6 separate regions of the Homo sapiens genome follow, and regions 2, 3, 4, 5 and 6 are each linked to region 1. The links are contacts of gene promoters, found by promoter capture Hi-C in human tissues and cell types (Jung and others, 2019). All regions are on one chromosome and are shown on one strand. The core of a region is centred on a gene start or on the middle of the fragment in contact, and the rest is flanking DNA. Distances in the headings are between cores, read along the strand shown. Region 1 holds the start of NCOA6 (nuclear receptor coactivator 6). Region 2 overlaps TRPC4AP (transient receptor potential cation channel subfamily C member 4 associated protein). Region 3 overlaps PIGU (phosphatidylinositol glycan anchor biosynthesis class U). Region 4 overlaps TRPC4AP (transient receptor potential cation channel subfamily C member 4 associated protein). Region 5 overlaps PIGU (phosphatidylinositol glycan anchor biosynthesis class U). Region 6 overlaps MYH7B (myosin heavy chain 7B).

Region 1 (3,460 bases), core at 680-3,179:
CACTCTCATGTTTACTGCATCCCTGTTCACAACAGCCAAGATTTGGAAGCAACCTAAGTGTCCATCAACAGATGAATGGATAAATAAAATGTACATATACACAATGGAATACTATTCCGCCATTAAAAAAGAGTGAGATCGTGTCATTTGCAACAATATGGATGGAACTGGAGGTCATTATGTTATGTGAAAGAAGCCGGGCACAGAAAGACAAACTTCACATGTTCTCACTTATTTGTGGGAGCAAAAAATTAACTATTTTTTATTTTTTTTTGAGACGGAGTCTCACTCAGCCACCTAGGCTGGAGTGCAGTGGCGCGAGCTAGGCTCACCGCAACCACCATCTCCCAGGTTCAAGAGATTCTCCCGTCTCAGCCTCCTGAGTAGCTGGGATTACAGGCACCCGCCATCATGCCCACCTAGCTTTTGTATTTTAGTAGAGACAGGGTTTCACCATGTTGGCCAGGCTGGTCTTGAACTCCTGACCTCAGGTGATCCGCCCATCTTGGCCTCCCAAAGTGCTAGGATTACAGGCGTGAGCCACCATGCCGGGCCAGGAGCGAAAAATTAAAACAATTGAACTCATGGAGATAGAGAATAGAAGGAGGGTTACCAGAGGCTGGTAAGATTAATGGGGAGGTAGGTGGGAAGTGGGAATGATTAACGGGTACAAAAGAATAGTTAGAAAGAATAAGACCTAGTATTTGCTAGCACAAGAAGGTGACTACAGTAAAAAACAATTGGCCGGGCGCGGTGGCTCACGCCTATAATCCCAGCACTTTGAGGGGCAGAGGCGGGCGGATCATGAGGTCAGGAGTTCCTGACCAGCCCGGCCAATATGGTGAAACCCCATCTCTACTTAAAAAATATACAAAAATTAGCTGGGCGTGGTGGCATGCGCCTGTAGTACCAGCTACTCAGGAGGCTGAGGCAGGCGAATCCCTTGAACCAGGGAGGCGGAAGTTGCAGTGAGCTGAGATCGCGCCACTGCACTCCAGCCTGGGCGACGGAGTGAGACTCCGTCTCAAAAAAACAAAAATAAAACAAAAAACAAAAAAAAAACCACACACACACAAAATTTACTTGTACATTTTAAAATAACTAGAGTATAATTGGGTTATTTGTAACACAAAGGATAAATGCTTGAGTTGCTAGATACCCCATTTACCATGATGTGATTACACATCGCATGCCTGTATCAAAATCTCATGTACCCCATAAATATATTCACCTACTACGTACTTACGAAAATTTAAAAAATACATCAGTGTAGTGTGGGAAAAAACAGAAAATTTTTAAAAAAGAGTGAAAGCCAGATATGAATCCAGGCCTGTATGACAGACATGAAGTCCAGTGCTGAGGAGGCCTTTCTACGTTTGGGAAGAGGGGAGGGGCCACACTCGTTCGATCAATAATTCTATTTACTGAGCATTTTAGCTTGCTAGGGAGGTAATGATGGGAAAAAGAAGAGAGGGATTTAGAGGCAAATAATAATGAAAGCTTTTATCTATATCCCATTAAGCTTATTATTAGACAGTATGTGTCAGGCACGGTGACAAGTGCTTTCCAAGCCCACCTCCATTTGCTCTTCACAAGCACTATGATTTTCCCCATATTTCAGATGGGTAAACTGAGGCTTGGAGTTGCCATGTCCAAGGATACTCAGAGCGCTCGCAAAAGACTGTGCAATGTGTGCTTCCGAAGTGGGACTCACTGGCGAGAGAATAGCCCTGGAAAGCCGACAGAGACCCACGAGATCCCAGCACTAAGCACTCAGCACCGAAGGGAGCTGGCGCGCGCTCCACCTCGCGCTCCCGGGGACGTCTGGTCACGTGGGCAATGCCCCGCCCCTCGAGTCCGCCCCGCCCCCTCTCGCGCTCCCTCCCTCTCTCCCTCCCTCCCCCTCCCTCCCCGGCCCGGTCCGGCCCATCCCCCTCCCCGCCGGCTCCGTGAGGCCCTGCCGGGTCGGGCTGCGGGCGGCCGGGCGCGGGCGGCGGGACAGACGGGCGCACGCGAGGACTGACGGACGGACGCACCGAGGGCGGCGGGCACGCACGGCCCGGGCCGGCGCTCCAAGGCCCGCCCGGGAGGGCCGGGGCCGCGCTCAGGTGAGGGGACGGCGGCGCGGGCCCGTAAGGGGTGGGCCCGCCGGGCGTCCGCGGTCCTTGTCGGGCTGGCTTCGCGGGGAGGAGGCGCCGCCCGGGCCCGCGCGGAAAAATGGCGCCGGGCGACCGAGTGGCACGGTCTGAGAGCGGGCCCGGCCCGGAGCCGCCCCGCCCGCCGCGCTTGTGTCCCCGTCGCCATGTTGGGGAGCGGGCCCCAGGCCTGCGGGCGGGGGCGCTGGAGGGAGCGGCGGCCGGGCTGGGTGGGGAGGGTGCTGGGCGCGGGGGCCGGTGCACTGAGGGAGTGCAGGGCTGGCCGGGGTCTGCACGGGGTGGCGCTCCAGGCCTGGGGAACAGGCGGGAGCCGGTCGTGGGGTCGTGGTCAGGGTCGCGGAGAAGGAACACTGGGTCCGAAGGGAACCGGGATTGGGGTCTATGGGCTGAGAGGATGGCAGGACGTGGAACTGGGTTAGGCCTTAGGCGGTGTTAGAGCCCTAATGCAGGTAGGACCTGGGGATTGGGGTGGAGGCATGGGGGCCAAGCTCAGGCTGTCAGGGCTGGAGCAGTTCTTTGCTGGGAGGGAAGGAGGTGATTGATGAGGAATGAGGGCCCTTTGGGTACAGACGCTGGTTCAGATTGGGGCAGTCCTTGGGGTACTGGGGCTGAATTGCAAAGCTGTATAACTCCCAAGGCTCTGAAGACTTATGTCCCAAGCATCCTCCACCCCCTCTTGGGGGAAGCAACAGGAAAAAGGAGGTGTTTGATGAGAGAAAAGGGGGACAAAGGGAGACTGAGGTTTGGGTGCAGGAGCTGGCCAGCAAAAGAGGCACAGAGAGTGGAACTGGTTGGCAAGGAAGGAGAGAACCTTTATCAACTTAGGGAGTTGTGTGTGTCTTTAAAAGGAGGGACCTGGCTGTTTGGGGGCGGTGACCCAAGGTGTCTTCCCTGGAAGGGGACAGCCCACAGCTTAAGAGCAGAGTCACCTGGAGAGGTCATCAGAAAGGCGTTATTGAAGCCAGTAAAATGGTGAAGAAGAGTGAATGTATAAAAACTACAAAGGCCTGAGAGATCAAGTAAAGATTTCAAATCAGGTAGTGATTTTAGCTGAAACATAGAAAGGTAAAGTTGACTTTTCAAGATCTTACAAGTTAGTGGCAGAGGGGTACTAGAAATTGTCGGCTGCTTCCTCACTAAACACATTGCCTTAAAGGAATTTGCTAGCTGGGAGAAAGGTGTTAAGAAATGAAGCATAACATTCTTGTGATGAAACTAAAAGCAAACAAACAAAAACAACAAGAAATGAAGCATAACAGTATATACCAGATAACTATTAAATTTGTTTTCTTCCTGTAATGAGT
Region 2 (3,460 bases), core at 646-3,145, 240 kb before region 1:
TTCACTGACATAGTCTATCTTCCATTTGAAGTTAATTTATTTTAAATACATTCTATGCACTTGAGCATCTTACGTCTTACTTGGATGAATGTGATCTCTTTTGAGAAGAATTGGTGTAGTATACTTCAGAGCTTTAAACATTACTACTCATTTTGCCCTGTTGTTTCCATTTCTGTGACTCTGATGAAGACGTAAGTCAAAATGAGATAAAGCTTGTGTATACCAAGACCGTTAGGTGTAACATTATTTGTAATGACTATCTACCAGGAGAAGATAATGGTTATTCTATCTATTTTGTTGAATTTTATGAAGTTGTTAATATAATGTTAAAGTTATAGTAATATGGGAAAATTCATGATGAAAACAGGCTATAAAATGGTTATATACTGTATAATAATTACTTCACCTTTTCTAGAGGATGACCTTAGGTCTCTATTATACAAAGCAAAGCAGGCATATGTTCAGGGCAGTTTTCATTGTTGCCTCAAGTCATGAGACTTCTTTCTTTTCCCTCCTGCAAGTGCAGTTAACAATAAATACAGATGTGCAGAAAGCTGAGCCCAGTGCTTCTCTAGAATTGACAATCTGTGGTGTAGTAGTTTAGGATTTTTATTTTTAATCTGCTGCTTTAAGCTAAAATAACACATCTCTCTTAATTCAGGATGTTGAATTATAGTGTCACATTCATGCCACGAGCAATCTCATGGCATGTGAATTACTTTCTAAAGATTTGTTGCTGGTTTGAGATGAGCAGAGGCTTTCTCAGACCCTCAAGCTGAACTGTCTAGTCTCAAAGATTTGCCTGCTGGCTTTTTAATTTAAAAAATGCTATGGAATCTTCCTTCTTCATTTGGCTTGAGGTGTCTTGGACATGCTGCCTAAGTATTGGCCTATAGCTAGAAGGGGCTAAGGAAGAATTTTTCTTTTTGTTCTGGGGTAGCTCCTAGCTTGATTTAAACAATAATAAAAAATACATACGTATATAGGGAATGTCTTTAAACATATGGGCTTAGTCATATTCTCAGCATATAGATAATTTTTAAATGCTTTAAGTGAAAATTGGACTTTTTTGGAAAACAAAGGTCCTAATTTTTCTCATTTTAAAAGGAAAAGGTGTTTGTCAAGGAAAATGTGAAAAACTGTCTTGGGACTTGTCACCAAAATTCAACCACTGTTAAGATTCGGGAGTATTCCTTTCTAACATTTATTTTTTTCTGTTTATATTAACCTAGAATTTGTTTAACAGAATTTTTTTTAATTACAGCTTTTAAAAATTGTTGGGATGATTTTAGAGATAGAGTTGCACTGTGTCACAGGCTGGAGTGCAGTGGTACGATCCTAGCTCACTGCAGCCTTGAACCCCTGGGCTCTAGTGATCCTCCTGCCTCAGTCTCCCGAGTAGCTGGGACTACAGGTTCATGCCATCACACGTGGCTAATTTTTTAATATTTGTTAGAGATATGGGGGTCTTGCTTTGTTCCTTAGGCAGTCTCCAACTCCTGGTCTCAAATGATCTTCCTGCCTCACCTTCTTCAGTAGCTGGGATTATAGGCACGAGCCACCCTGCCTCCCCAGCAATAACAGCTTTATTGAAATATAATTTACATAAAGTTAATTCTTGTAACCACCCATCAGTATTGTGCAGTGATAACCAGAACATTTTTATCACGCCAAAAAGAAATCTTGTACAAATTAGCAGTCACTCCCCATCTCCCCTTCTCCCCAGCTCTGGCAGCCGTTAATCTATTTTATGTCTGTATTATGCCTGTTGTGAAATATCCATAATGTCCATAATATGCCTGTTCTGTCAGTCCGTTCTCATGCTGCAATGAAGAAATACCTGAGACTGGGTAGTTTATAAAGGAAGGAGGTTTAATTGACTCACAGTTCCATGTGGCCTGGGAGGCCTCAGGAAACTCACAATCATGGCAGAAGGCAAAGGAGAAGCAGGCACCTTCTTCACAGGGCAGCAGGACAGAGTGAGTGCAAGCAGGGGAAATGCCAGACACTTATAAAATCATCAGATCTCATGAGACTCCCTCGTTATCACGAGAACAGCATGGGGGACCTGCCTCCATGATCCAGTCACCTCCACCTGGTCCCACCCTTGACACATGAGGATTATTACAATTGAAGGTGAGATTTGGGTGAGGGCACACAGCCAAACCATATCACCTGTTACGGATATTTCATATCAACAGAATCGTCCACTGTGTGGCTTTTTATGTCTAGCTTCTATAACTGAGCATGAGGTGTTTTATTGTTTTAAATAATAGCTTTATTGAGATATAATTCATGTCATACAAGTCACCCATTTAAAAGATATATTAAAAGATATAATTCAGTTTTTTAGTATAGTCAGAGTTATATACCACTGTCACCACAATTGATTTTAAAACATTTTCATCACTCCAAAAAAGAAACACCATATTCTTCAGTAGCCACTCCCCATTTCCTCCCAAGGCCTCCCTCCCACATCCTTAGGCAACCACTAATCTACTTTCTGTCTTTATAGATTTAATTATTCTGGACATTTCACATAAATGGAGTCATAACAATACGTGGTCTTTTGTGACTGGCTTCTTTTGCTTAACATAATGTTCTCAAGGTTAATCCGTGTCATAACGTGTATCAATACTCCATTCCTTTTTATTGTCAAGAAATATTCCACTGTATGGATAGACCACATCTTATTTATCCATTCATCAGTTGATGGACATTTGGGTTGTTCCCACTTTTGGCTATTATTAGTAATCTGCTATGATTAATAATGCTGCCATGAACATTGGCATATAAATTTTTAGGTGGACGTGTTTTCATTTTCTATTAGATTGTCTTACTAAAAAATTTCCCTTGGTATATACCTAGAAGTGGAGTTGCTGGTAACTCTGTTTAATTTTTAAGGATCTGCCAGACTGCTTTCTGAAGCAGCTGCACCATTTTACATATCTACCAGCAGTGTATGAAGGTTCTAATTTCTCCACATCTTTGCCAATAGTTACTATTTGTCTTTTTCATTATAACCATCGTAGTAGGTATGAAGAGGTATCTCATTGTGGTTTTGATTTGCATTTCCCTGATGACTAATGTTGATCATCTGTTTATTATTGGACTTTTGGAGAAATGTCTGTTCATCTGCTTTCTCCATTTCTTGATTGGGTTGTCTTTTTATTATTGAGTTGTATTAGTTTCTGGATACTAATTCCTTGTAATTTGCAAATATTTTCCCCCATTAAGTAGCTGTCTTTTCACTCTCTTGATGGTGTCCTTTGAAACACAAAGTCTTTAATTTTGATGAAGTTCATTTTATCTTTTGTTACTTGGGTATTGGTGTGCATCTAAGAAACCATTTCCTAATCCAAGGTCACAAAGATTTACCTATGTATTCTTCTGAGAATTTTATATTTTGTATCTTACATTTAGATCTTTGATCCATTTGCATTGACTTTGTTTATCATGT
Region 3 (3,460 bases), core at 695-3,194, 220 kb after region 1:
CCAGTATGTGGGGCGATGAGGGGAAAAGAAAATAATTCATCTTTTGAAGTCAAAGGAACTGTAAAAGTTAGTTTGTACTTCCTCCTTTGACACTATAAACATGCCTCCATTCTGCTGGTGGAATTTCTAGAGAGTACTGGTGTCTGATCAGTGCCAGAGGTGAAACTATTCTTCCTTTCCTTCATGAGACACAAGATCAAAGGGAGGGGATGCTGCATCTGGCTCCCTGGTGAATCACTTATGAGAATGGTAGTTTGAGCCCATCTGGTTCCATCCGGCAACTCAACTCTTTCTCTGACCTTGGCTGAGAGCCTAGTTTCCAAATTAGAGAGAGGTTTAAAATGTTATGATTTGATAGCATGCGGAAAAAAATAGCCCTAACATGCTCAGGGGCAGGAGGCTCCAGTGAAGGAAAGCCGAGTGCACAGGACCGAGAAGCTGAAGCTGTAAGGCTTCGAGGGAGACCAGGCGAGGCTTACCGAGATGCTCATGGTGCAGTCTGGGAAGTTTCTAGTTCCCATCTTCCTTTTGCTTGGGATTCCTAAAGCCTTGGATTCCCTTGGATGGTTTGAGGCCTTTATTTTCTTTCAAAGACAGTAGCAGACACTAGGGGAAATTACCCCGTGAGTACTCTTTTGGTTTTGCTTTAATCCAGTCTGACCTTTTCTTGTCTTTGAACTGAAAACGTTAATCCTGTGATTTTTTTTTATCCTTTCTGGAGCTTGGGTCAGGTTATGTGATGGTAGCTTATACCAGAGGAGCCAAACTCAATCAGTTATTTCTTGATAACGGGTCCTTCCCCAAGCCTTCTCTGGGGCCATATTTAGAGTTTTCACACCTTATTTTTTCTTCCCCAGTCACTTTCTGTTATTTCTGCTATGTCCAGGTGTGTGCTAGGGCAGAGGTAGCAGTGCTGTTAGCTTTGTTTCTTTTTGGAATGGGTAAAAATGAAGGCAAGAGCTTGATCAAGCATTTTCAATAAAGTTTTCTACCAGTTTTGTTTCCTCTAATATATCTGTCATGCAAAATATATCTCCTGGATCTCTTCTTGTGATTCCAAGAACTTACATGTAAAAACATTGTTAGGTTAACTCCCTTTAAGAGTTTATTTGGATAACTGGCTTTTTCCCTTTCACATCGTGTCTGAGAAAGGAAATGGTTTCTGTACAGAAAATGCTTTTCTCCCTAGTGCTGTAGAGACTTGGGGAGAGGAAGATAATCTTAATGTAGCTGGGGTTTTTCTGAAGCAGTCTGAGAATTCTTAATTTCCCTAAATATTTTTTATATATTAGCAACAATGTGACTCCTGGAATATTGTAACTGCGAGTTAACATTTTCAGGTTGAGGGTGCACATAACCCTTGGATCACATCTGGCCCCACAGATGTGGTTCATTTGACCCTGGTGTTTGACTTTTTTGAAATTAGTAGTCAGCATTTTAAAAATTCATGTGGAAATTTTTTATTTCTGGCTCCTTTTGAGGAATTGTAAGATCTGTCCCCTTTAGGCAGAGCGTACCCTCTTCAGATTGCCACAGTCCCTGTTTCATTTCTCTCACCTTCACTTGTTTGTTACCTGCCTGGTCCCCTGTAGGGGTGTGGTGTGTGTGTGTGTGTGTGTGTGTGTGTCTGTCCACTAAAAGGTCTAGAAACAATGACCAACCCAGTATGAATGAACATTCTTAGTGCCCAAATTATGATCTTGAAATACCATTTACCCATTTAGAGAAACTGGGGTTTCTTAGGGAAATGGCTAATTCTAGGTTTTAGGGCAGGAAATGTATAGGATGATCCTAGAATGTTGTGATAACAGATAACATGAAAGTTTATCAAAGTCTACTGGAGTCATCTTGAAAGGACTTAGGATCTAACTTGAAGAGGCTCCCACTGACCAAAGAGGGATAATTTGAGTTTCAGTAAGGTAAGAATTGCAATAGATTAAAACTCATAAATATATTTAAATCCAGGCACTCATAATGTTACTAAAAAGGAAACCTACTTGGCTAAATTAGGAGAATTGATAAGAAATCAGTTCATTGTATTGAAAACTGGATAAAGGAAAAAAATAAGTATTTGTCCTGCCTTTCCTGTACCACTAGATAACCATATAGTAGGTGACAGAAATATATCTTTATAAAATTATTTCAACTTACAAATGAAAACAAAATGATAGGATAGCATCATTTTACAACCCCTTATGGTCTAGGTACTGAGCATCAATAACTGCTGACATCAGAAACAAAAACCAAGCCTCCTGACAAAAGAACATTACCCACCACCAAAGTTTGCCAAAAGGATAAAATCCAAAATTGATCAAGCCTCTGGATATAGCTGCAATTTGCAAGAAATACTGAAAACAAGGTACATAATTAGAAAATCCAGATTATGGGATGTTATATGGGTTAAATGTCCCAGATTCTGTAACATATGAATTGTAACAAGAAAAAAAAAAAAGATATGGGCAGGAGTAGGCTGGAGTGGAGGAATTATGAATTAAGAGACTTAAAAATTGTATCAAAAATTTTAAAAATAGGCAAGACCTAAACTATAGAAAGGGATGCACATGTAAGTGGAAAACCATAAAGAAATGCAAGGAAGTGATTATTACCAAAGCCAGGGTAGTGATTACTTTGGAGGGAGGAGGGGATTGTGGTTGGATCAGGGAACATGGAGGAACTTGGGGAATGCCTGGAAAGTTCTTTCTCTCGACCTTGGTAGTGGTTATAAGGATGTTCACCTTACAATCATTCATTAAGCTTTATATTCTATGTAATTTCCTGCATTTTGTGTTTGTAATAAAATGGTTTAAAAAATTGATAGAGTTTTTAGGGCATCATTCTTGTAACCCTTCTACTTACATACATACATACATTTTATTTTTTTGTTTGTTTTTTAAGATGGAGTCTTGCTGTGTCGCCCAGGCTGGAGTGCTGTGGCACAATCTCAGCTCACTGCAACCTCCACCTCCCAGGTTAAAGCGATTTTCCTGCCTCAGCCTCCCAAGTAGCTGGGATTACAGGCACCCACCACCACGCCTGGCTAACTTTTGTATTTTTAGTAGAGACAGGGATTCACTATGTTGGCCAGGCTGTTCTTGAACTCCTGACCTCAAGTCATCCGCCCACCTCGGCCTCCCAAAGTGCTAGGATTACAGATGTGAGCCACCGCACCCAGCCATACATATATTTTATTTTATTTCATTTCATTTTATGATGGAGTCTTGCTCTGTTGCCCAGGCTGGAGTGCACTGGCGCAGTCTCGGCTCACTGCAACCTCTGCCTCCCGGGTTCAAGCAATTCTCCCACCTGAGCCTCCCAAGTAGCTGGGATTACAGGCACCTACCACCACACCTGGCTAATTTTTGTATTTTTAATGGAGACGGGTTTTCACCATGTTGTCCAGGCTGGTCTTAAACTCCTGACCTCAGGTGATCTGCCCGCCTTGGCCTTCCAAAGTTTTGGG
Region 4 (3,460 bases), core at 612-3,111, 220 kb before region 1:
TTATTTTGGGAACTGAGTTCCATACCTTTCATTAGATTTGTTAATGGGCTCAGAACCACAAAAAAAGTTAAGAACTACTTTTTATCAGAATTACAAATGCATATACTTTTTGATCTACTAAGTCTCTCCTGGGCCTTCATTTTATAGATAATGATGTATAGACACTAATCTCCTCTTGTCTGCAGTTTCACTTTCTGTGGTTTCAGTTATCCGTGGTCAACTGCAATCCGAAAATATTAACTGAAAAATTCCAGAGAGAGACCACATTCGTATAACTCTTATTACAGCATCTTGTTACAATTGTTCTATTTTATCATTAGTTATTGTTAATCTCTTAGTGTACCTAATTTATAAATTAAGCTTTATCATAGTTATGTGTGTATATAAGAAAAAACATAGTATATATAGGGTTTGGTGCTATCTGCCATTTCAGGTATCCACTGTGAGGGTCTTGACTAAGGGAGGACTACTGTACAAGATTATTCACTGAGGCCAGGCACGGTGGCTTAACGCCTGTAATCCCAGCACTTTGGGAGGCCGAGGCAGGAGGATCACTTGAGGTTCAGAGTTTGAGACCAGCCTGGCCAACATGGCGAAACCCCATCTCTACTAAAAATACAAAAATTAGCTGGGTGTGGTGGTGCACGCCTGTAGTCCCAGTTACTCAGAAGGCTGAGGCAGGATAATTGCTTGAACCCAGGAGGCAGAGGTTGCTGTGAGCCCAGATTGCACCACTGCACTTCAGCCTGGGCGACATAATTAGACTCCGTCTCAAAAAAAAAAAAAAAAATTATTCATTGCAACATTATTTGTAATAACAAAAGACTAGAAACCCAGATGTTCATTAACACTGGACTGCTTAGTGTATTCAATATTTATATAATGGAAAATTGTGTAGCTTTGAAAAAATGAAGATCTCTATGTACTGCTATAGAAAAATCTCCAAGATATATTAATGATAAAGAGGAAAATACAGAACAGTGTGTATATGGTATAGTTTTTGTATTAAGTCAGGGGGAGAATAAGACCATACGTTTGCCCACATATATGGTATGCCTAAAGAAACAAAGGGTACACAAGAAACATAAAGTGGTTATTAATAGGAAGTAGCTGGTAAGGGAAGGTAGTAGCAGTGGGAGTGGGACTCCTTACTGTATACTTTCATATATTGTTTGATTTTAGAACCGTGTAAATATATTACTTAAAAACAAAACACTATTCTAACCAATCTAGCCCACCTATTTCTGTTCAGTAGCAAAAGAACTGTGTTCTATCTAAAATGTTGTTGCCTGCACAGATTTTGGAGAAACTGGCATAGATGTATTTTGGTCATAAGAGTGTAGATAATTCATATTTGAACTGAAACTTGTGTCTTAAAAGCTAGTTTTTCAATGTTAACAGGCTGGAAATATTGTTAATACAAAAACCTATCACTGTGTACCTTATGGTACACCAAATAAACAAGGTAAAATTATACAAATGTATCATTAAAAAGCAGCAGTAGAAAACCATGACCATGCAGAGGTAGCCCTAATCATGCTCTGAAAACAGTTCTTTGTTTCTAAAGTCCAGTTGTGTGCATTCCCCAGGCTGGCTCTGCAGAGTTATCAAGTGCTTCAGAGCAGCCTCCTCTCCTGAGGCTGAATATGAACCTGCCATTCACTCTGTTATTGTCTAGTTTTAGTTAGGAACATGAGGTGATCATAACTATACTTTGTAGGTTATTAGGGAATATAATTTTACATGTTGTAGTCATATGTAAAGGTAGAAGTTTGTGGACTCCAACCCCAGTTTATTCTCTCTCTAGATTTGCTTTTCCTCCTGTGTCACTAGATACAAGGTCTTCCTTGGTCTGTGTACGGTTTTCTTCCCACTCCTTTATGATTTTGGGGGAGTTCTCATTTTAGGAAATTTACATTTTTAAAAAATATGTGACTTTCCAACATGGCACATATATACATATGTAACAAACCTGCACGTTGTGCACATGTACCCTAGAACTTAAAGTATAATTTTAAAAAAAGTGACTTTCATTATAACTAAATTATACCTCAGAGCTGGTGTACACACCTCCATATACATTGACAAAAGGTAGTATTTGCTAAGCTCCTGGTATGTGGCAAACGCTGGGTAACTGCTTTACCTAGAAGTGATTTTATTTAATCCTTCAAGTGCCCTGTGGAATAGAGATTAGTATCCCCATTGCACATGTGAGGAAACTGAGGGCTAGAAAGGTTCTGTATTGGATGCCTGTGTATGCCGAGGCACTAAGTAACTTTCATCTTTTAGTTTCCCATTTAAGGAATCTATTCTGGCAGATGATTTTGATCCTGTTAGTATTGATTGCTTTCAGATGCCTATTTGTAAACTGACTTAAGTAAAACCAGCATTACCCATTATTCTTGAGGAATGAACTGTTCTGGTCAGCTGGGCTTTTTTGATTAACTGAGAACGGAAAGCCCAGTTTTTGTTTTTGTTTTTTTATTTGGGAGTTTTTTCTTAAAGTCTCTATAAAATAATCTAGATTCACTTTCATATCTGTGTGACTAGCCTAGTAGACAGTCTATGTGTGATTCTGCTTGTAGCTTTTGGGATAAAGCCTAAAAGTTGTAGTTCCACACATGAGGTTGTGCAGGATCTGACCCTTCCCAACCCTGACCATAATTCCTACTCCATTCCCTTACCCGCACGATTTTCTCCATTCAAATGCCCTGGGAAGGCCAAGCTGGTGGACATAATTAAATCACGAGTGGATGAGGAAAGTCTTAGTCCTCTGAATGTTATCATTCTTGAATTGCGCTCCAGTAGTGAATGCCTTTATCTCAGGTGTGTGTATCAGTCAGCTTGAGCTGCCATAACAAGGTACCGTAGACTAGGTGGCTTAACTAACAGACATTTATTTTTCTCACAGTTCTGGAGGCTAGAAGTCCAAGATCAAGGTGCTGTCAGGATTGGTTCCTGGTTGAGGCCTTTCTTCCTGGCTTGTAGAAGGCCACCTTTTTATTGTATCCACATATGAATTTTCCTCTCTGTCATTGAGGAGAGACGGAGATCTCTGGTGTCTCTTCCTCTTCTTAGAAGGACACCAGTCCTCTCGGTTTAGGGCCCCACACTTTGTAACCTCATTTAACCTTAATTACTTCCCTGTATTAGGCAGCAGTCTCCAGAGAGACAGAAGCAGTAGGATTTATGAGGTGGGATTTGTTAGGGGAATTGGCTCACACGATCACAGGCGGAGGAGTCCCATGATAAGCCATCTGCGACAAAAATTAGCTGGGCATGGTGACACGCCTGTAATCCCAACAACCTGGGAGGCTGAAGCAGGAGAATTGCTTGAACCCAGGAGGCAGAGGTTGCAGTGAGCTGAGATTGTGCCATTGCACTCCAGCCTGGGCAACGAGTGAAACTCCGTCTCCAAAAATAAATAAATAAAATAAAAGATAAGCCGTCTGCAAGCTGG
Region 5 (3,460 bases), core at 246-2,745, 180 kb after region 1:
AATTTGGTAACCTTCTGGTCTTTGTTATTACAAAGATCTTATACTTAAGGATCCAGATGCTTTAAAGTGCTAGGAAGTGATGGTGAAACTTCTGGCCTGTTCAGCCAGCTCTGGAATGATCAACCCCAAACCCACAAGACAGCTTTACTAACAGATAAAGAAGGGCCAGCTTCATCTATGTAGCTTATTAATAACTATTAATATCCACATACCTGTGCAAGTTCAGACTTCTGGAGTAGTGCTGAATAACAGTTATATTACCTGTCGTTAATGAGGACCCTTAAAAATCTTCTAGTCTTTCACCAGTCTTTTTTTTTTTTTTTTTTTTTTGCATAGGAAGATAAATACAGCTTTTAAGTCACTGTTATGCCTATCTGAGGTAAAATTGGATTCTCAATGTCATTTCTGTCTCCCTGCAGAAAGTAATCTTAATTGGAAAATTTGACATGTATTAAATGCCTGATATAAACTTCAGTCTTAATCCATATGTAATAGCCAAGGAGAATTGCATAGTGGGACCATTCTTCTTTTCCTGGGGTCTGAGAAAGTTAACAGATTAACCATGTGTACTACCCATGTAGTTAAATGGCTACAACACTCCTTGATTGGCTGGGAGCCACTGAGAGAGAAGATTTAGGCTGGGGTGAAATAAGGCTGCATCTCATTGGCATTGTCTGTTTGTGGTTCATTTTAGCTTTTGTTACTAATGAAACCAGAAATAGCAGTGTGCTTTCTGTGTCACTGGTCATCAGTGACAGATGAAGCTGGTGAATTCTAGAATTTTAGACCCCAGAGAGATTTTAAAAAATATCTAGACTGAGGGTTCTTAACTTGGCCTTAATGGGCCTATAAAACTGTGGAAATGGTATGGAGAATTATATGTGTGTGTGTGTATATCATTGTTTCCAAGAGTTCATAGCTGTTATTGGTGTGTGGTCTTTGACTCTTCCTCTAAAATTAAGAACTATATTTTAGGGACTTAGTATCACCAAGACCAGGGAGTATATATCTTAAACTAATGGAGCATATCTTGAAAACTTTAGGGGCTGAGATGAAATGCTTTAACAGGATTCTCTTGAGGGCCGTAGATGAAATAATTGGGCATGGGTTTCATAAGCTGAGGAATTCAGATATAAATTAGCAGTGACTGTTCTCTTCTCCGAAATAGGTTGGGTAGGTAGACAGTCTCTACCAATAATACAAAAATTAGCCAAGTGTGATGGTGTGCACCTGTAATCCCACCTACTTGGGAGGCTGAGGCATAAGAATCAATTGAACCCAGGTGGTGGAGATTGGAGTGAGCCAAGATCGCGCCACTGTACTCCAGCCTGGGCAACAGAGTGAAACTTTTTGAAAGTGAATCTCCAAAAAAAAAAAAAAAAAAAAGACTAGGGAAAAAATAAACTTGTGTGTGTGCATATATATATATATATATATGAGATATGTGTGTGTGCATATATATATATATATATATATATGAGATATATATATGTGTGATATAGATATGAATAGCTGAGGCAGGATTGGTAGCTTTCATCTAAGACCACAATTACCCAGATCTTTATAACCAAAATGTAAAACTGAACTGTGTTTTAATGAAAGTTGATTAGATGCTAATGCCATATGTATTTTTTTTTTCCTGCTCAATTCTCATCAAAAAACCTCTCACACTCCCTAGTTAAAACAATTTTTTGCTTAAGACCAGCCTGGGCAATATAGTGGGACCCTGTCTCTACAAAAAATTCTTTAAAAAATTAGCCAGGAGTGGTGGTATGTGCCTGTAGGCCCAGCTACTCTGGAGACTGAGACAGGTGGATGGCTTGAGCATGGGAGGTCAAGGCTGCAGTGAGCTGTGGTCATGCCACTGCACTCCCGCCTGAGTGACAGAGTGAAACACTGTCTCAAAACAAAACAGTTTTTAATGGTAGGGTTAGTTTATGAGGAAGCAATGAAACTAGGTTTCAGTTAATTGCCTAACAAAGTCAGGCTTCAATGTCAACAGGAGAGATGCCTTTAATTTAGAGCACCAATAATTTGTTTGTTATTGCTGAGTTTATTTGGAAATATATAGAGATTTTTGGGTTTTTTTCTTTGCATGATTTAAAGAGGGAGAGAGAAAGCCAAACGGTGTTGTCAATACCCTGGTTTTTAGTGCACCAAGACATTCTGTTATTACCAAGACTGAAGTAAAATTTGGAATGTTTTTGTTTTTCCACTTTTAGAGTTCAGACTATTAGAACATTAGGTTTCTTCATCAGAATAGAAGTTTTATGTATGCTCTGTCAAAAATTAACTCATTTTAAATGGCAGATTTTGATGATACTAACATACTACTGTTGATTTAGGTAGGATAGCAGCATGTCTTCCTCTAAATCTTCTTCCCTTTGTCAGAAGGGTTCATATCGCATAGTCTGGGAAGTATTTAAATCTTGGTGGGATTTGAGTCTTTTTATCCTTGGTAATGAAACTATGTCTACACACAGATGCATCTGGGAGAACTATAGGGCAGAGAGGGGACTGCACCCCCACCCCCTCTCCAGCTGTTAGCCTGCGGACTGAATGCTGATGGTGACCAGTTGGTTATCATGACATTTTACATCTATCTCACTTGACAAAAACAATGTTAGTCTAGTCTGTCCTTTGCTGAGATGGTGCTTCTTGTTTGGAACTCAGAATTTATGTTAAGAGAGCTGCAGGTGGTTTGATAATGGATGATAAAAACCTGTGTCCCCTTAATATGATTAGAGGGTTGTAAATTTGGAGGCTAGGCTCCTGAATTTGGAATGTGCTGAGGCTAACAGTTGGAGAGGAGTAGGGACAGGGGTGGAGTGTTTCCTCTCCCCGACCCCACCATAGTTTTTGGGGATGCAAATGAACGTAGATGCAGCTTCAATGATTAGAAAAAGCCCTTTATAGCCGGGCGCTGTGGCTCACGCCTGTAATCCCAACACTTTGGGAGGCTGAGGCAGGCAGATCACGAGGTCAGGAGTTCAAGACCAGCCTGGTGAAACTCCAGCCTGGTCAGGAGTTTCAACGTGGTGAAAGCCCGTCTCTACTAAAAATATAAAAATTAGCCGGGCGCGGTGGTGGGCGCCTGTAATCCCAGCTACTTGGGAGGCTGAGGCAAGAGAATCACTTGAACCCGGGAGGCGGAGGTTGCATTGAGCTGAGATCGCAACACTGCACTCCATCCTGGTGACAGAGCAAGACTCTGTCTCCAAGAAAATAAAGCCCTTTATTTGAAGTAGGGGAATTATGTCCTGGCAAAACCTATCTTTCAAGGGACAAGGAAAGGGCTGTATAGAGGAGTGGGTGGAAGGAAAGGAAGACTCTACCCTGGAGATTTTTAAAAATTAAAACATTTTGATTTTTTAATATAACTTACATATGGAAAAGCATACCATCTGTCTACAAGCTGATTAGTGATCACAAAGGTAAGATATCCAGGTCACTACCCTTC
Region 6 (3,460 bases), core at 405-2,904, 170 kb before region 1:
GGAGCGTGTGCTCAGTAAAGGCCAATTACACACATCACCACCTACCCTAATGGGGTAAGTGCTGCTAACCCCACTTGACAGATAAAGAAACTGAGGCCCAGGAAAGGCAGTGACATGCCCAGGGCCAGAAAGCAGAGGCTTAGCAGAGCCGGGGTGGGACCTGCAGCCACCTGGCCCCAAAGCTGGCCCCTGGCTCAGGGCCCTTCCCCACAGCTGGCCCGGCCCACACCTTGTTCTCAGTGGCTTGCTTCTCCTTCTCAGCTTTGGCCAGTGTCAGCTCCAGGTCATCAATGTCCTTCTTGAGCTCCGTGCACTCGTCCTCCAGCTTGCGCCGGCGGGCGGCCAGGTCAGCGTTCACCTCCTCCTCATCCTCCAGCCGCTCACTCAGCTCCTTCACCTTCCCCTCCAGCTGCACCTTGGACTTGATCAGCAAGTGGCAGCGCTCCTCGGCATCTGCCAGGTTGTCCTGCTCCTGGAGGGCACACGGAACGGGGCCAGGTTGGGGGAGGGCCAGGTAAACCAGCAGAGAGACACCAGGCCAGGCCCTGGAGAGGAAACTGCCTCTGTAGCAAAGTTTGGCTGTGCTCTGAGAACTCAGGAATGTCTTGACTCGCTCTTGGGCATGGAAGGGCAATAGCGCAGAGGGACACACCAGAGCATTAAGAGGGGAAAGTTAGAAGTGCGGGGCGGCCCAGAGTGAGGCCCAAACAAGGGTTCTGAGAGGGAAGCCCGCTGCTCACTGCCCCGCTGTTGGGCTGAGGCCTTCCGAGGGGCAGGGTGAGCAGCAGCAGCCTCTGCACAGCCACGGACGGGCTCCTGGAGGCAGTCCCTGGAAGGGCTCAGGTATCCTTACCCCCCATTTCCTTACTGTCCAGCTGCGTCACAGTCTCCTGCACTAGCAGGTGAGTTTTGTGACCACAGGGCCATCTCTGTCTTCCCACCAACGTTCCTCCTGCACTAGCCTGAGCCTGGCACACAATTGATACACAAAGCCATGTGCCGAAGGCAGGAAAGCTTGCTCTGTGGACCTGGGGAGATTCCAGACCTTTGATCTGTGCTCTCTGGCTATCACCCTGTTACCTGCCACCTGGGTTCCCATGGCCCTTAACCAGAGAAGAGAGCATGGGTCTGTTTGGTTTCAGGGATTGCAGGGAGGGGAGAGCTGGGGAGCTGGGGTTCCTCTGCTTTAGCGGGAGGCCAAGGTGGCACGAGGGGAGAGTGCCAGGAAACGTGCCAGACGAGGCCTTGGGGTGGTGAGGCTGGGACATGGAGGCCTCATCTCATGGCATCTTTGGAACAGAGAGACATAAGGCCTGAGCCCCATGGGTCTCGCTGTACTATCCCTCAGAGCAGCCAGGGGTACTCGGGGCTGGGGACGCCCGGTCACAAGGGGAACCCTGACTCACAGCCTGCAGCTGCAGGGCCAGGTCATTCTTCTCCTGGGTGATGCTGACGTGCGTCTCCTCCAGTTCCTGGCGCTTGGCCTCGGCCGCAGCCAGCGCCCCTCGCAACCCCCGCAGCTCTGCCCGCAGGGCCGCCAGCTCCTCCTCAGCCTGCGCCGAGCGCAGCAGCGGCTTCATCTTGAAAAAGAGCTTCATCCATGACCAGTTCTTGACGGCATTGAAGGCACGGATGTTCCACTGGATGGTGAACAGCGCATCCCTAGGGAGGGGCAGCCAAGCTGTGAAGGTGGCTCAGTGCTGCCCGTCACAAATGGTGACACTCAGCACAGTTCACTTGTTTTGCCTTCCCAGCAGCCTCATGGAGTAGCTCCTAATAGCTCTGCTTTATAGGTGAGGGTGAGGGGAGGCCCACAGTCCCACAGGCCTGCCTCCAGTGAAGGGGCTCATGAGCCCCCCATGTCCTGGTGGCCTCTGCAATTCCCGGAAGACACCAGGGCTGTTAAGCCACGGGGCTCTGGAGTCAGCGGCCTGGGCTGACGTGCCAGCTAGCTCTGGATCTCTGACACGGGCACCCTTCTGCTGAGTGGAGGCCATCACAGCGCCTGTTTCTCAGGACCGTCAGCGCTTTAACCAGGATAATGCAGAGAAAGTATCTTGCCTGGGGCCCGGCCCGCAAGAGTCTTGGAAGACACTGGGTGCCATCGCTACCCCTCCGGGCCACACGCTGATGTCCTGAAATGGAGAGGCAAGTGCCGTACCCCGTTTTTTGAGGTGGGGAAATGGAGGCTGGGGGACACAGAACAGAACCTTGCCCCAACCAGCCACAGGGGCTGATCTGACTACAGGGCAGCATGTTAGGGTTGGGAGAGCCAGTGGGTCTGGGAGCTGAGAGGCAGGGGACACACCCTGTCCCCAGCCTCCTTCCCACACCCACCTGCCTCCCAGCAGGCGCTGGTACTCAAGGCGCATGAGGCGGCCACGGCTCCGCGCCTGCAGCAGCGTCAGCACCTTGGCCAGGCGCTGGTCACGGAGCTCTTCCAGGACGCCTAGAAGCCCAGCCTTGAAGAACACCTGGGGGCGGAGAGGTAGACAGCCAGGGTAACCCCCAACCATCCGCATGAACCCTGCCCAGTGTGACCGCCACAGCCATGGCCAGCCCTGATCCCACAGTGCCCCGACCTTGGTGTGGCCAAACTGGTACTGGGTGTGATCCAAGTCCAGCGAGCCCAGCAGTTTCTCTGTGGCCTTCCTGCTGTCCATGAAGGTGTCATCCGGGATGGCACTGGGGTTCAGGATACGGTACCTGGGAAAGGAGGGCAGAGCTGGTCAGGAGAGGGCTGGGTATGGGGCACAGGCCACTGAGAATGGGGAAGTCAGGGACTGAGGAGGCTCGTGTGGGTAGCAGGGGACTCGTTCCTGGGCCTCTCCGAGGCTGGTGCAGAGGTTCCAGCAGGGCACATGCCAAACAAGGGGGCCAGGGATGCGTCACCACACTGGGACACTAGGGACACTCCACTTAAAATCCCTGGGGGGTTGGCTGGGTGCGGTGGCTCACGCCCATAATCACAACACTTTGGGAAGCCAAGGCGGGTGGATTGCTTGAGCCCAGGAGTTCAAGACCAGCGTGGGCAACATGGTGAAACCCTATCTCTACTAAAAACACAAAAATTAGTGGGGCATGGTGGCGGGCGCCTGTAATCCCAGCTACTCGGGAGGCTGAGGCAGAAGAATTGCAGAATCGCTTGAACCTCAGAAGGCAGAGGTTGCAGTGAGCCAAGATCCTGCCACTGCACTCCAGCCTGGGTGACAGAGCAAGACTCCGTCTCAAAAAAAAAAAAAAAAACACAACCTTGGGGGGATTTTAAATGCATTCATTAAGTTTTTAAAGAGGCTTTTTACAGAAGGCATGCACTATTTTTAAAATTTTTTTAAAGGCAAAAAATATTAGTAGAAGGTGACATGCTGTACCCTATCACTGAAGAAACATTTGGGGGAAAATTCTTTTTTTTTTTTTTTTTTGAGACGGAGTCTCGCTCTGTCGCCCAGGCTGGAGTGCA

Evidence for each region. The method cuts DNA at HindIII sites, captures the fragments that hold promoters and counts their contacts. A contact is called where the count stands out against the background at its distance.
Region 2: a fragment that was not itself captured here is called in contact with the fragment with the promoter of NCOA6 in region 1 in 2 of the 25 tissues and cell types used here (IMR-90 fibroblasts and lymphoblastoid cells).
Region 3: a fragment that was not itself captured here is called in contact with the fragment with the promoter of NCOA6 in region 1 in 2 of the 25 tissues and cell types used here (IMR-90 fibroblasts and aorta).
Region 4: a contact is called between a fragment that was not itself captured here and the fragment with the promoter of NCOA6 in region 1, in 2 of the 25 tissues and cell types used here (pancreas and small bowel).
Region 5: a fragment that was not itself captured here is called in contact with the fragment with the promoter of NCOA6 in region 1 in 1 of the 25 tissues and cell types used here (hippocampus).
Region 6: a fragment that was not itself captured here is called in contact with the fragment with the promoter of NCOA6 in region 1 in 2 of the 25 tissues and cell types used here (hippocampus and lymphoblastoid cells).

The regions. Positions count from the first base shown.
Region 1 is chr20:34,824,120-34,827,579 of GRCh38, reverse strand. It overlaps NCOA6 (nuclear receptor coactivator 6), which reads left to right and starts at 1,929. Exons shown (of 15, transcript NM_014071.5): 1 at 1,929-2,108. RefSeq lists silencers at 1,823-2,012, 2,023-2,462. The HindIII fragment of the contact is 14,831 bases long and covers 1-3,460 here.
Region 2 is chr20:35,061,690-35,065,149 of GRCh38, reverse strand. The region is part of intron 3 of TRPC4AP (transient receptor potential cation channel subfamily C member 4 associated protein); the gene reads left to right. Among named protein-coding and RNA genes, the nearest start is that of TRPC4AP, 29 kb to the left of the region's middle. The HindIII fragment of the contact is 7,597 bases long and covers 1-3,460 here.
Region 3 is chr20:34,602,029-34,605,488 of GRCh38, reverse strand. The region is part of intron 7 of PIGU (phosphatidylinositol glycan anchor biosynthesis class U); the gene reads left to right. Among named protein-coding and RNA genes, the nearest start is that of MAP1LC3A, 45 kb to the right of the region's middle. The HindIII fragment of the contact is 4,519 bases long and covers 1-3,460 here.
Region 4 is chr20:35,040,578-35,044,037 of GRCh38, reverse strand. The region is part of intron 7 of TRPC4AP (transient receptor potential cation channel subfamily C member 4 associated protein); the gene reads left to right. Among named protein-coding and RNA genes, the nearest start is that of TRPC4AP, 50 kb to the left of the region's middle. The HindIII fragment of the contact is 7,224 bases long and covers 1-3,460 here.
Region 5 is chr20:34,640,671-34,644,130 of GRCh38, reverse strand. All of the region lies in intron 4 of PIGU (phosphatidylinositol glycan anchor biosynthesis class U), which reads left to right. Among named protein-coding and RNA genes, the nearest start is that of PIGU, 35 kb to the left of the region's middle. The HindIII fragment of the contact is 5,754 bases long and covers 1-3,460 here.
Region 6 is chr20:34,992,348-34,995,807 of GRCh38, reverse strand. MYH7B (myosin heavy chain 7B) reads right to left here. Exons shown (of 45, transcript NM_020884.7): 25 at 2,583-2,706; 26 at 2,338-2,474; 27 at 1,407-1,662; 28 at 230-472. Among named protein-coding and RNA genes, the nearest start is that of MIR499B, 3.6 kb to the right of the region's middle. The HindIII fragment of the contact is 8,137 bases long and covers 1-3,460 here.